3 separate regions of the Homo sapiens genome follow, and all the other regions are linked to region 3. Evidence: promoter capture Hi-C in human tissues and cell types (Jung and others, 2019). All regions are on one chromosome and are shown on one strand. Each heading gives the region's core, a stretch centred on a gene start or on the middle of the fragment in contact. The rest is flanking DNA. Distances are from core to core; before and after follow the strand shown. Region 1 overlaps NFIB-AS1 (NFIB antisense RNA 1). Region 2 overlaps NFIB (nuclear factor I B). Region 3 holds the start of LURAP1L (leucine rich adaptor protein 1 like).

Evidence for each region. The method cuts DNA at HindIII sites, captures the fragments that hold promoters and counts their contacts. A contact is called where the count stands out against the background at its distance.
Region 1: a fragment that was not itself captured here is called in contact with the fragment with the promoter of LURAP1L in region 3 in 1 of the 25 tissues and cell types used here (dorsolateral prefrontal cortex).
Region 2: a fragment that was not itself captured here is called in contact with the fragment with the promoter of LURAP1L in region 3 in 1 of the 25 tissues and cell types used here (dorsolateral prefrontal cortex).

The regions. Positions count from the first base shown.
Region 1 is chr9:14,350,684-14,355,127 of GRCh38, reverse strand. The region is part of intron 1 of NFIB-AS1 (NFIB antisense RNA 1); the gene reads right to left. It also overlaps a transcript of NFIB not described here. Among named protein-coding and RNA genes, the nearest start is that of NFIB-AS1, 36 kb to the right of the region's middle. The HindIII fragment of the contact is 7,273 bases long and covers 1-4,444 here.
Region 2 is chr9:14,214,944-14,219,552 of GRCh38, reverse strand. All of the region lies in intron 2 of NFIB (nuclear factor I B), which reads left to right. Among named protein-coding and RNA genes, the nearest start is that of NFIB, 97 kb to the left of the region's middle. The HindIII fragment of the contact is 4,207 bases long and covers 706-4,609 here.
Region 3 is chr9:12,772,016-12,776,613 of GRCh38, reverse strand. It overlaps LURAP1L (leucine rich adaptor protein 1 like), which reads right to left and starts at 1,594. Exons shown (of 2, transcript NM_203403.2): 1 at 587-1,594. The coding sequence starts at 898. The region is part of intron 2 of LURAP1L-AS1 (LURAP1L antisense RNA 1); the gene reads left to right. The HindIII fragment of the contact is 5,707 bases long and covers 1,018-4,598 here.

The DNA.
Region 1 (4,444 bases), core at 308-2,807, 1.6 Mb before region 3:
CTGTAACACAGCTTTTCCCTTTGGGGAGGGGTGCAGTGTTCCAAGTCACTGTGCTTACTCCAACCCAAACATGCTCACACACACACAGCATCTCCCCATCCCTGAAGCAGGGGTCGGTTGCTATAGGTCATCTCATTTGTGCTGCTGTTCTTCCTCTGGTTCGCTTCTCTCATTTAGAGAGACCTGCTCCTCCCCTGCCGCACAAGGAATAGTGACAGTGTTCACAACAGGACAAGGGCTACACACTCCCTTCACATCTGTAAAGCTAAGGTTGCTGTTCAAGTGATCCTTCACGGGACAATCCATTTCTACACACACACACACACACACACACACACACACACACAGAGTACCCATTACATAGAGATAACCATTTAAATGCAATGCTGAAGGAAAAAATTGCCATGAGGTATAACTGACTGCTCACCTCAGAAACTAGATTTGGAGATTTTAGGAGAGAAAAACCCTCAGCGACTACATAATTATTCCCCAGGGCTGATCCCACTTAAAAATTCACCTGACTGTACAAGGGATGGCCCTAAATTTCAATGGAAACCCAACCATGTAGCCCCTTAGAGAGACCGTACTCTCAAATTGGTCTTTGTACCTATTTGTAGAAAAATGTTAGCCAGATTATAGCTGAAAACTCTGCTAATTCTGGGGAAGATTTTGGTCTTGTGCCTGGAACTATTGAAGCATATATTCACACCTACCACATGTAACACTTAGTAGCAGAATTTCCAGCACAATACTTTAGTACTTTATTTTTAAAAGAAACAGAGCAGAGACTGAAGCCCTGTTCACTCTGCAGCTTTCTTGCAGGAGGCTCCACAAAAGGTGGTGGTGAGGGAGGTTCTGTGCTCAAAAGAGCTATTTTTTTATTTTTAAAAGGAAAGGAGACACTAAAATCTTTGCTCACAATTAGGGAACTCATGATGCTGAAACATAACATTTGCACCTGCCTGTAGATTGAAAAAATAATGTCAAATTTGCAAGGCTCTGAGAAAATAGGGTGCGGTGTATTAGTGATTTAATCAATCCCAATCAACATTAGAGTTCAGACAACACCTTACAGACATCTTACTGTAACCCCTTTGGTTTTTAGAGAAGGAAGGGGAGGTTGGAACATTTTAAGTGATTTGCCCCAGATCAGCTCTCCACCTAAAATGCAGGTCTTTTCTTTCAGATGAGCGTACTTTCCACTGCACCAGGCTACTTCTAAACAGGCATTGTCCTGTCAGCCTCAATTGCATGCAAAAAAAAAAAAAAAAAAAGACAAAACCCCTCTCGCTCTCCACTAGAGTCTCTATTTGGACTCTAGAACGGACAAAGCAACGGCTATTTCAACTTCAACTCCCTTAGCAAATGGAAGAAAAGGCATCTGACCCGTGGACTCCTCCAGCTGGTCCCCGGGTCTCACCGCCTGCGGGTCTCCACGTCAGCTCGCAGGCATCGGCGGCCAGTCGGACACCAGGGGGCGCAGCAGCCTTTGTCCTGACAGGTATTGAAGAATGAAGCCAGACTGGGCCGTCAAGAAAAATCTGACTTCCCTCCTTTCAGTTTCTCTCATTGGAACCAGCCCACTCCCCAGCCCCCTTCATTCGCCTTAAAGCCATTTTCTGCTTCCTCCTCATGCTCAGATTCTCAGGGTGCAGGGATGCAGCAGTTCAGAGACCCCTCTCCAGGAGCTCCCCCGCTCTGCCAAGGACACCCTAGCAGTGGTCCACCATTTGTTCTCACTTGCAGGCCTCTGAACTCAGGATGTTTTTGGCTATTCTTCCTGAATGAAGAACCCTATAGAACAGGACCAGCTTCCCAGAAGAACTGTCACATCTATCCTCTAATATCCCTCCCCTTTCCACGCACAAAAACAATCACAAATTAAATAACATGTCTGGGAAGCTCACGCGGCCTGGACCTATCCCTCACCACCCTCTGTCTGCCCCTACAGTCTAAGGACAGCCTTTGGTAGTAGCTACCTACCCAAAGGGACAGGCTGCAGCACCTTCACCATACCTCTGCCATTCTCACCAACCCATGGTGCACCCCAAGCAGGATAACTGCCTCCTTGTAACCCCACCAGCTTGCCTCTGTGTGCCCTCCAGCAGAAAGAAATCCACTTGACCCTTGCCAAAGTCTCCTGATTCCAAAGATTCAGTAATAAATGAGCATCCTCTTCTACTTTAAGACATACTCCTAACCCTGCCCCTATAGACACAAACGGACACAATGCAAACCCTCAGATGTCAAAAACGTACTCTTTCACAAAGACTCCTGAAACTCCTCTGTTCCAGAGGGAAAGGCTACAGGGTCCTTCCTATGCAGGCCTTTGAAAAGCAGCTGTATGTTTACATAGAGAGATTCCAAGTTTACACAGTCCTTTCCCTGTCTGTTATTGGAGCCTCTCAACAACGCTGAGAGATAAGCAGTGAAATCTAAAGCTTAGAGGCTTGCCTCAGGACCAGACCTAGTACAGCGTAGAAACAGCACTGAGGGCCCGGGTGACAGAGCATGGAAACACTTGCTTGTCCAATTGCACCAAGGCCTGGAAGAAATGCAGCCACCATAGAAGATCATCAGATTACATACACTGAGGGAGCCTGTGGTCTCAGGAGCCAGGCAGGGGCAGGAGGAACAGTGCAAAAGAAGCGGTGATGTCAATTCTGACCCGACTCTTCTTTTTACCTGTGGCCTCGCTCACTTCTTTATTTCCACGTTCATCTTAGCTAATGTAGAGTACCGGGAAGTGCTGAGCCCGGAGACAGGTAGCCATGGTTTGTTATCTTGGTGGTGAGCCTCCCAACTCCACACTCATAAAATAATGATAACATCTATTATATATACAAATACATCACCAAAAAAAAATGAAAAAATCAGTGTAATTCCAGGAGACGGAGCAGGGTAGGAGACTTTTACTTTCATTTTATGCTGTTTTCTATTATTTGAAGTATCTGGATTTACGCATGTGTTCCTTTTATGATTTTATTTTTAAAATTTTATTGGGGTTAATGATGCTCTTTAGCGTTGCTGCAAAGATGACTTATGTAACATATCTGGCATGGTACGTGGTCTGGTGCACAGTTGATGCTCACTCAACAGTAGTTTATTGTTAGCTATATACTTCCGTCAGAACTGTGGGCAAATGGGACCTCAAATCAAGAGACCCGGGGTCTGTGGCACACTCTGCTCTCAGATCCATGTATGCCTTTTAGTAAGTCAAGTCCCTTGGAATCTATGTAAACATAGTAGCTGCTTTTCAAAGGCCTGCATAGGAAGGAATCTGTGCCTCAGTTTCTTTATCTGTAAAGCAATGAGACACAAGCCACTTGATTTGAAAAATGGTGAGAAGGACAGGACAACATGCTCACCACCCAAAATGCCTGAGATACCTTCTAAAATTCAGTCACAGTCTTTGCAAGGGAGGCTTCTTAAGTTTGAGTTCATCAGACAGAAACTCTTTCTAGGAGAAGTTGTCATCTAGGATAGACAGAAAGGGCTGGAGATAGCTGAATAAGTTCTAAAGCAAGTACAGAAATTAAATCAGGAAACAATGTGTGAACAGTATAGGGCCATCAGCGTAGGATGGGAGGTGAGAAAAGAAGGTTTGAGGTGTTCCTTGAGTGCAGTTGGCACCACGATCATTTCCTGACAGGGGAGATGCCCTTGGTAGGCAGAAGGGGTGTGATTCAAGGTCCAGGCATCCCTGGCCCGGACACAGCCAGCCCTAGCCCAGCTCCCTAGGATGAGAGTTCTGTATGGGGCACAGGGCTGGCGCTGTTGAGACCAGGCCTCCCTAGGCAGATCCAGGAGCAGAGCTGCCCTTTGGACAAATTACTTTCGGCAAAGTCAGAAGGAACCCACTGCCCAAGAGAATTGGGCTAAAGCACCTCTGAAGTTTCTTCCAGCATAAACTTTATCTTAACAACAACCAAAAAAAGTGGGGAGACTGGACCATAGGAGGTGCAGATGCCCAAACATGATCCTCTCCCTGCTTAGCAGCTAGTCTGGGGATACCTATTTTTTATGCACTCCAACTCCTGAAAACCAACTAAAGATTTGTTCCTGGAACACACAGCTGATTCATTTCCTACGCCACTCAGAACGGGAGATTTCCCTCCGAGTCTCCTTTGCCAAAGCTTGGCCTTTGGGGGATAGGAGGCAGGTAGTCTAGTGGGTAGAAAGGTCGCGACTTTCTTTTGCCCCGCGGTCTCCTTCCTATTTAAAGCAGCACCGCCTGTCGAAACAGCTTTGTGCCAATATTTGCAGGCAGGAAGATTTTCTGACATTGTAAGGGGGTTGTTGGAAGCAGATGGGAGGCCCTTTCCCAAGGCCATCGGCAGACCAGAAATTGGTTACACCCGCACCCAGGGAGGAATCCCTAGCCCCCACTCTCACGATCAGCGCCCATAAGGTATCTGCATTTACATTTTAAAAAGAAAGAGGA
Region 2 (4,609 bases), core at 1,560-4,059, 1.4 Mb before region 3:
TGTTCTTTTGCAACAAATGTAATGCGGTTGTAATTTTGAGAAAAGAAGCCTGCAAACAAAAATAGTTAGTAGTTTAATTTTAGGTTTACAGTTTTGACATTGTAACCCTAAATTACATCGTATTTGGAAAAATCTCTTCAACTTAGACTTTTTTTTTTTTTTTTTTTTTTTACCCTAGTGCTACAAGATGACTCTATATTAAAGTTTCTCTGGAGATAAAATAGCAATATTTGTCAATCTATATAATAGTTAATATTCAAAGTAACGTAATTTATCTGCATCTTAGATTTGCTCTTCTTGTTGAAAATACTGGTAGTTTTAAATACGTAGAATCAAAAACAAACAAATGCAAAACTCCTTTAAACATGGCAGATAGGGAGTTGTGAGAGGCTGTGCCAAACTTCATAAGGTGCAGCATTTAGGAGAGATGAAGGGCTAAAGCCATCAGAGTTTCTACCAAATTGGGTGATCTACATGAGCTTCATTAGCCACCCCTTAATGAAGAGCCAGCACTGAAGAAATGTTTTTGCAGCAGGAGAATGAGGCAACTATTTAATGGTATCTAGTTAAAGCCAGAAGGAGACCATGAGAGGAATGATTTTAAGTTCCCTAGAGGGCAAGAAGTGTTTCTCCATGTGGTACTTCGAAGAGTAAGGTAAACAAATAGGTACTTAATAAATGTCTTTTGATGATGGAGAAGTTAAAAGGAGGGTACATCAATAACTGAAATTACCTGGACTTAACAAGGCTAAAAGTTAATAGAAATCTAGGCATCCACTGTGATCAAGGCCAATGCATTTAAATAAGTCCACTTCCAATTTCAGCTCCTGGGGAAAAGAGTACATTTCAGATGCCAAACCCCCAACCAAATCTGGTTGGTAGCAATAGGCTCTTTTGGCCCTTGGTAAAATTCCCAGTAATCCAGATACCAAAATACACTATTAAATACTGAAGAAAATTCATTTGTTCATTGATTGGGTGACATCTATAGTCATCAGTCTCTCAGGAGGTTAGAAGCCCAACTTGGAGTTCTACAGCAGTGCATTGCTGTTTGCCATGCACCTTCAGCGTCTCACATTACTGTATGCAAAGTCTTTTTCAAGCACCTGATAAAAGCTGTGTTGGCTTAGACAGAATGCCAGTGGGTGGAATCTGGGTTTTATTGGTGCTACTTGAGGGAAAACACTTAGTTCAGGAAGGCACTGAAAACAGAAACAAGGTTTTGAGGTTGTTATTTGGAGTCAGACTCTTGAGTATATCATGGAAACAAAAGAATTTTAAACTTAAAAAAAATCATTTTATTTTCTATTTGGCTTCAATATGGTGATAATGTCTGTCCCTATTTCCTGTACAACTGGCCTTTTTCTTCAGTATTTTTCCTCTGGGAAAAAGTATGCCTTCCAAATACCACCTTGGAGCTCTCAGCTCATTATTCTTATTCCCTTGCTAGGCAAAGCAACCACTGCCTTCTTAAAAGTTCGATGAAATCTACAGAGTAATACAGGAACTCCCAGCAAACACGGAAGAAACTGAGCCTGGGATGGAAAGTACAGCTTTACTGGCAAAGGATCAGGGACCTAAAAGCTTACATTTTTGTGCTCTACCACTGCCCATATATATTTACTTTCTTACCTTCATTCTGACTTAACCCAGATTTACTTACCTATCTATTTTATCTCAGTGGCAGGAGTATTTTTTGTAAGTGTTCTCATGTCTTTTGGGGGAAAGAAACAAAGTATAAAATAATAAATCAATATTGACATGGTGAAGTAATATCTTGAATGAGATAATTAGCAATATGAGTGTTTGGAGCAGGATTTTTGATGAGTCTTCCAAAATAATATAAATTTAGAGTTTGCTTAGTTTGTGTCTTTTTTTTTTTTTTTTTTTTTGAGATGGAGTTTCACTCTTGTTGCCCAGGCTGGCATGCAATGTTGCAATCTCGGCTCACCGCAACCTCCACTTCCTGGGTTCAAGTGATTCTCCTGCCTCAGCCTCCCAAGTAGCTGGGATTACAGGCATGCGCCACCACGCCCAGCCAATTTTGTATTTTTAGTAGACACAAGGTTTCTCCATGTTGGTCAGGCTGGTCTTGAACTCTTGACCTCAGGTGATCCACCCACCTTGGCCTCCCAAAATGCTGGGATTACAGACGTGAGCCACCGCGCCCAGCCTAGTTTGTATATTTTAAAAGAATTTCCTAGCATTATTGAATAATTAGATAATGTATATCTTATCTTTTGGTTGCTCTTGCCCATTCTGGAAATAATTTATAAGAAGATCTAATTTAGATTCTATCTGCTGTTAAGTGTGAATTAGTGTGAGTTGCATATAACATATATAAAAGCTGTAACCTGGGAAAAAGTTATTATCTGGAAGCTTTAGAAATTAATGTTATTCTTTCTTAAGTATCATCAGGAAATTAATCAAAATGGCCACCTTGATACCAAAAATAAGGTTTTGGGGCATAACATCCTTATGAATTCAAATGTTAGTCATTTCACATATCTTCCACTTTATTTCATTAAGTCCTTCCTAGTAGACACTGTTCAAACATTATTCACCATTTACTAATGCTGTTACAACATTATTTTAGAAGATGGATATGGATAGCTGTTCTAGCTTTTAAAGTTTTCAGTGTAAAGCACCATGTGCTAAACATTGGCCAGGATATTCTGTATGAAATGGCTTTAGTTACAGGCCTGTCTGACAACAGTTTTCATCAGAAAAGTATGCTTATTTTCCTTTCTTTTAGAAAATTTGGCTGAAAGCAATTTTGGCAAAGTCAGCATAGCCTTAAGTGTCACATGAGAAAGATGGAATTGAAGTGGCTGTTAGGTAGACCTGACCTGGGTATGGTGACTGTGGTGACATGAGTCCTTTGGAGGACACAGCGTCTCTCCAGCATCTCTCTTCTGAGGTTCACTCTCTTTTGTAGGGGCTTACCCCCTTGTCAATGCTACACACACACACACACACACACACACACACACACACACACACACAGAGGGAGAGAGAGAGAGAGAGAGAGAGAGAGAGAGAGAGAGAGAGAGAGAGAGAAAGAATGGAGAACCTTCCTTCTTACCTGTGGATACAGATGCACCTTGGCAGAGCCCACTTGCCTCCTGCTTCCGGCCTTTCTCAAACCAGACCTTTTTTAGTTTCTACTTCATCCACACAGAGACTTAATAGTGGCCAGTAAAGTGACTTGAAAAACGAATACATGCCACCATGTTAATGCACACCTTTCCAGTGGGATAAGCTCAGCCTGAGTGCCAAATTGTATTTCTTTGCACATGATTATCAGTTAAAATTATTTATATAGTTTGTTATTCATTAAATTTATTTTAGGAAAGTACACAAAGAAAAAATTGTGACCAGGCAATTAGGTAGCTTCTAAGGTAGCCATTGCCAACCTATCTTTTGTTATGAAGATGAAGTCTGTTATTTCTTAATATTGAACATTATTTTTGACTAAATTTAAATTCTACTGTATGCAATAGAATTGAAAATATACCAGCTTTATCGTCATTACCAAGAGTGATGATGATGATACCTCCTATTTATTGCCCACCCCCCATGAACAAGGTATCGTGCTGAGAATTTACATAAAGCAATTCAGTTAATTCTCAGTACAGTGCTGCTTGGGAGAGATTGCTATTTGCCTTTTACAAGATGATGAAAGAAGCTTGGAGATGTTGAGTCATTTATCTGAATTACAAAGCAAGTGAGTGGGCAAGATAGTTGAAAATTCTTTATTAAATTTGCTTTGATAACAAAAGTAATGTTTGCTTTTGGTAATACAATTGGAGTATTACAGAGGAAGTTATGCATACCATAGGAAGCTAGACTGGTTTTCAGTACATTATCCAGAAGAACAAAAAGTACTGTTAACAAATGGGGCATCTTTATCTTTATCTGACTTCTTGAGAATAATCTTTGTAAATTATCTGATCACTTTTTAAGTAGTAGTTTTTTTAAATGACTTTTTGATGACATACTTTCAACTTTCTTTGCAATAGAATCAAGGTGCATTTTAAATTTAGAATAAGCGAGGATTTTCAGGACCATATATCTTTTTACACATTTGCTTTCTGACAATTTTTCACCCCCAAATACTCAAACTTTTACTTATTTATTAGTTAACTTTTAATAATCGTTTCTTCTTAACATAGTCTTAGTATATGCAGATGTTTAAGGTTTTCATTTTCACTGCTTTTCATTTAATACCATTAAATGTATACCAGAGGTTACATTTTTCAAGTTTATTGTTCTGAGTATTTATGCCTGCTCTTTTTCTTCGGTTCCAATATGCTGGACAGTCTATGAGAAACTGATGTGAAAGTTGATGTCTTTGGAGATTACGTAAAAGCTGCTTTAGCCATTATTTTTCCATTTCTTGCTCTGCTAAGCACCCAATTGTTGAGCTTGACAGAAGATCATTTTACTGAGCTATTTACTTTGAAAAATTATAAGTAATATACTTACAGAAAATAATTAAATACTATATACAGGTAAAAGTGAAAAGTAAATCTCTTCCTTCTCCTTGTTTCTCCTTTGGCCGTTGCTCCCAAGCCTAAATTTCTTGTTTCCACATTTTCTTAATGGG
Region 3 (4,598 bases), core at 345-2,844:
CCAGCTGTGGAGAATCTGCTCGACAGTGGCCTTGGAACAGCTGCGGCTGCTGCACCAAGAAGGGAGGGCAGGAGGGCGGAGCGGTACTGGTGGAAGGGTGAGCTAGGAGGAAAGGCTGCAAGGACCCTGCCACGCCACCTCCCGGCAAACCAGGAAGTATTTTTGCAGTAAGTGCATTGGACTGAGCCACCTTTTGAACCTACCCGAAGTGTTAACAGCGCACAGCAGGCCTTAGATGGGTGCAATAACTGCAAACTCTCAACGGGCTGGTGCCTAAGAGGCTACGGGCTGGCAGCTAAATAGAGCCCGGCGCAGTGAGTCGCGTTGTCCGAAAGTACACAGAGTGGAGCCAGCCGACTGTGCTGTCTTTGCAAACCGTGACCGAGCAAAGTCCGCGGTAAACAAGCCTCGCAGCAGCTGCCTCCGGATGAGCGCCCCCTGCTCATTCCTCCACCCAGCATTTCCCACGCGCCCAGCGCTCCGCTCTGCAGCCCCTGCCGTCCTCTCTCCCAGCCCCATTCTCAGATCGCCCCATCTTTTGGCCCAGCCCAGGTCCCAGCCCCCGCGGCTGGCGCACCACACTCACCATCTCTTGCCTGAGGAGGTGAAGCTTGGTTTCTAGCCTCTCCAGGGCGCTAGAGTGGCTACCTCGTGGGGAGCCAGAGGTTGGGGAGGACGAAGAGGAGGACGACAAGGAGGGAGGGAAGCTGCAGTAGCTGCTGCTGCTACTGCAGCCGCCGCCGCCGCCGCCACCACCACCGCTCCCCCCGCAGGGGTCCCTGTCCCTTTCCCTGGGAACCGGCTCCTCCCCACGGAGAGAGCGCACTAGACTCTCGGGTACTTTGCGCCCCAGCTTCAGCTCGATGTCTCTGAGGTCTGGCAGCGGGCTGTCTTCCATGACTTTTCCGGAACGGCGATAATAGTAATAAAACGCAGCAGATGAAAGGCAGCCACGGCTTCGAAGGCTGCTGCGAAATCAGCAGACCTCTCCGGGGGCCAGGGTCTCTATCCTCCGCCGCTCCGGTGTACCGTCCTTTCCATAACCGCCTATGCGGTATCAGCCCTGAAATCCGCACAGGACGCGGGGGGTCGCAGCTGCAGTTCCCAGTCCGCTGCGACTCCTCCGACACTAAGATGATCAAGATCTCCTCATTCTCTCTCTTTTTGGCCACCTCACTGCAAAGTTGAGTTCACTGATATTGCAGACAGAGGGGGAATAAAGAGGGGGAAGTAGTGAAAGAAAAGAGAGGGAAATTAAATCTGTTTTAGCTTTACCAAGGGAAAATTTTCACATTATAAAACCGTCCGTTCACATCCCTGCGCCGCTCACTGACTGCCCATCTGGTACTACGCGACACAAAATAATGATGCAGCCAGAAACGATGTCCTGGGTCGTTTCATTTTCCAGCCATATGCCTCCAAGCTTTCGGGATATCCTGGGTTGTCAGAAATAATCTCTGGTCAGTGAAAGAGGAGTTCGGTCGTGTGCATGGACCCATAAAAAAGAGCTAGTTAGCTTAGCAGGAGTTTAACGGCTTCCTTGATGCAGCAAAAATGTCCTTCTTCCCATTTAGGCTGTTTGATCCAAGTCATTGTGTTCCTCTGAGCCTCGGAAACTTTAAACTCCGCTGGCAGGTGGACCAAACCAGGACCAACCCTTCTACCGTATATCACAGACAAGAAGAGCAACCGGAATTTTCCCAACCCTGTCGCTAGTAGCAGAGTTTCAAAGCCCTGCTTTAGTTAGGAATACCAGTTGATTTTTCAGTTTTCCTGACTAGCTACAACCTTTAAAACAGGTTTTAAAATGAGAGATAGAGGAATGACTTTATATTTGGTGTCTTCGTTTCCCATCTCTCTACCTTCCTCAAAGGAAAAACAAACAGAAAACCTCTCTTTAGAAGACTTTCCTAATAATTTTATTCTAATAAAAAGAGTGAAACAATTTCATCAAAAGTTCAATGGAAATGTACAATCAAAATTAATTATCCTACCAACTGTTACAGTATGCAAACAAAAGTGAAAAATTAAATAGCCAGAATAACTTACATGACTGCTGAGATAGCAGTGAAATTTTAAGAACAAGCAATTGCTGAGATACTTACTTTTATTTTAATTATGGAAGAAAAAATATTGGGAATAACTATTTAAAATGTTGTCTTCTTTGATAATTTATCTATAAATTAATTTATAGATTTTTTCAACTATACAAATTGTACAATTAATTGTATAGTTGAACAATTGTACAATTTATTAATTTGTACAATTGTACAATTCATTAATCTGAAATACTTCTACCAAGTAAGTTATTATGAGCTACATGGATTACAGATCTGAATCAGCATTGAGTTTGTGTCAAAAATGTTTAAGTAGAGGATACTAATTTCAATCCAGTAAACTACAATTTTTGATTTCCATTGAAATATTTCAAAGTATGTGCCCCTCTATTTCTGTGACATATAAGTATTTGTGTTCCTGGTCACTCCGAGGCTCCATTTCCAGAGACATCATTCAGGTTTTACACTTGTAGGAACATAGGTATATACATCTCAGAGTTTGTTTTTATCATATCTGACTCTAGGAAACCTTATACGTAGAGGAAACATACGCATTCTAAATGAAATATTTCATGTCAGGGAAAAAATGCTGAACTTTCTATCAACATGCCAGAAATTTGCATGCTATTTCTCCCTTTTAAAAAGAAATGAAGAAAATAGTTATAAGTTAGATGACCCATTTCAAAGTTAGAACTACCACTTACAGAATCAAGGGAAAACAAGACCAAATCCCAGCTAACTGATAAAACTACATGCTTGGTCCTAAATTTGGAAAAACACAAGCTCGTTGCATAAGAATTGCACTGTGGCATGTAATTATGAAAGGCTTGTGTTTCAGTCAAGAACAGTTTATTATTACAAAACCCTTACAAAGTTCAGCATAAGGCTGGCTAAGTGCAGTTTATAGATGAAATATCTAGCTAGAAATTGGTCAGTAAAAAACAAATGTCAAATTATCGTGTGTCAATATAGAAAAATGGGACACCTCTTCTGCTATGAATCACAGACTGCAAAATCAGTATTTGAGGCTGAGGATAATTTAATATATACGTATATGTATGTATATATGTATATAGTTTTTTAAAGAAGTCTGCAGGAGAAACTCCTCTGAGAGTAAAAGTGTGATGTATATGCAAAGTAACTTTGTTCCAGTGAAATATAAAAAAATGTAAACTTTTGAAGGAAAGCTTAGTATGTCAAGCTTTAAATTTTTTTTCGGTTAAATGCCTATTGACATTTTAGTTTAAAATGAAGACATTTTGAATGATGCTTTAGCTAGTTTTCAGAATATATTAAAATCATTGAATGTTTATGGATCTATAATAGATTGTTGTTAATGCTACCATAACTGCTTTATGTGGTTTAATCTGAGGACATTTCTTACTCAAACTATTTGAAAACTTTTTTTTTTTACTTTGGTTCTTGAGCATGTGTTTTGTTTGTTTGTTTTCAAGATTCTCAAGAAACTGAGTCAGCCTGGGCAATATAGCGAGACCCCACCTCTTCAAAAAATTTAAAAATTAGCCAAGCATGGTGGCATGCACTTGTAGTCTTAGCTAAGGGGTTAGGGGTGAGGGAGTGAGGCCAGAAGATTGCTTGAGTCCAGGGGTTCGGGGTTGCAGTAAGCTATTATCAAGCCACTGCCCTTTAGTCTTTGAGACAGAGTGAGAAACTGCCTCAAAAAACAAAAACAAAAATAAAAACAATAAACATACAAAAATGCCCACAAACAACAAGGACAAAAATGTGTGAGATGTTTTACCAATTGCTCTTAGCCTGAGAAGCTAATTACATCTTGAGTTGGGGAATCAGTTGAGAAGACTTTGCAGTAATGAGTCCAGGATGGGGGTTGGGGGTAGCAGTGAATTCAGCAACAACTGGGAGAGGGAACATAGGGAGAACTAAGAAAGACAGAGGGAAAAATTCTTGAGTCATATCACTCTTAGTAGCACTCCCTCATTGCTCCTACTTTTCTGGTCCATCTCCAACTACCTCTGTTTCTTTGATTAGTAGCATTTGCCATGCCAACAACCACCTAAACTCGCAGTGTTTCTCCAAGTCTAATAATACATTGCAGAGTAAAATTGTAAAAATGGTTATTGTATTGTTTTTATTTGTGATGTAATTTTTTATACTTCATTATATGCTTCCTTTTAAGACCACCATATGTATGAGCTGGATTTGCCTTTTTTTTCTATTCAAAATGCATAAAGAATCTAAGAATGAATGTTAAACTATGCAGGACTTTAAGAGACTGAGTTTCTTCCCTAGCTATGTTGTGTACACGGAGAAGGAAAGGGAGCCTCTTATTTATCATTAAAAAGAAAGAAAAACTAGTGGCTAATTAAATAGGAACATTGTTGGACTCAGATGACAGGTTTTGAAAGAATGCCTCAGTCACAACAGACTGATGTGATGCACGCTTCACACATTCCACACTTAGAACATTTCCTGATTTGAGACACAATACTCACAGCAAGAGTAGACTCAACAACGCTTCATGTAGTGTGGGTAACACCACTCCTTAATCTGTTGCTGGCA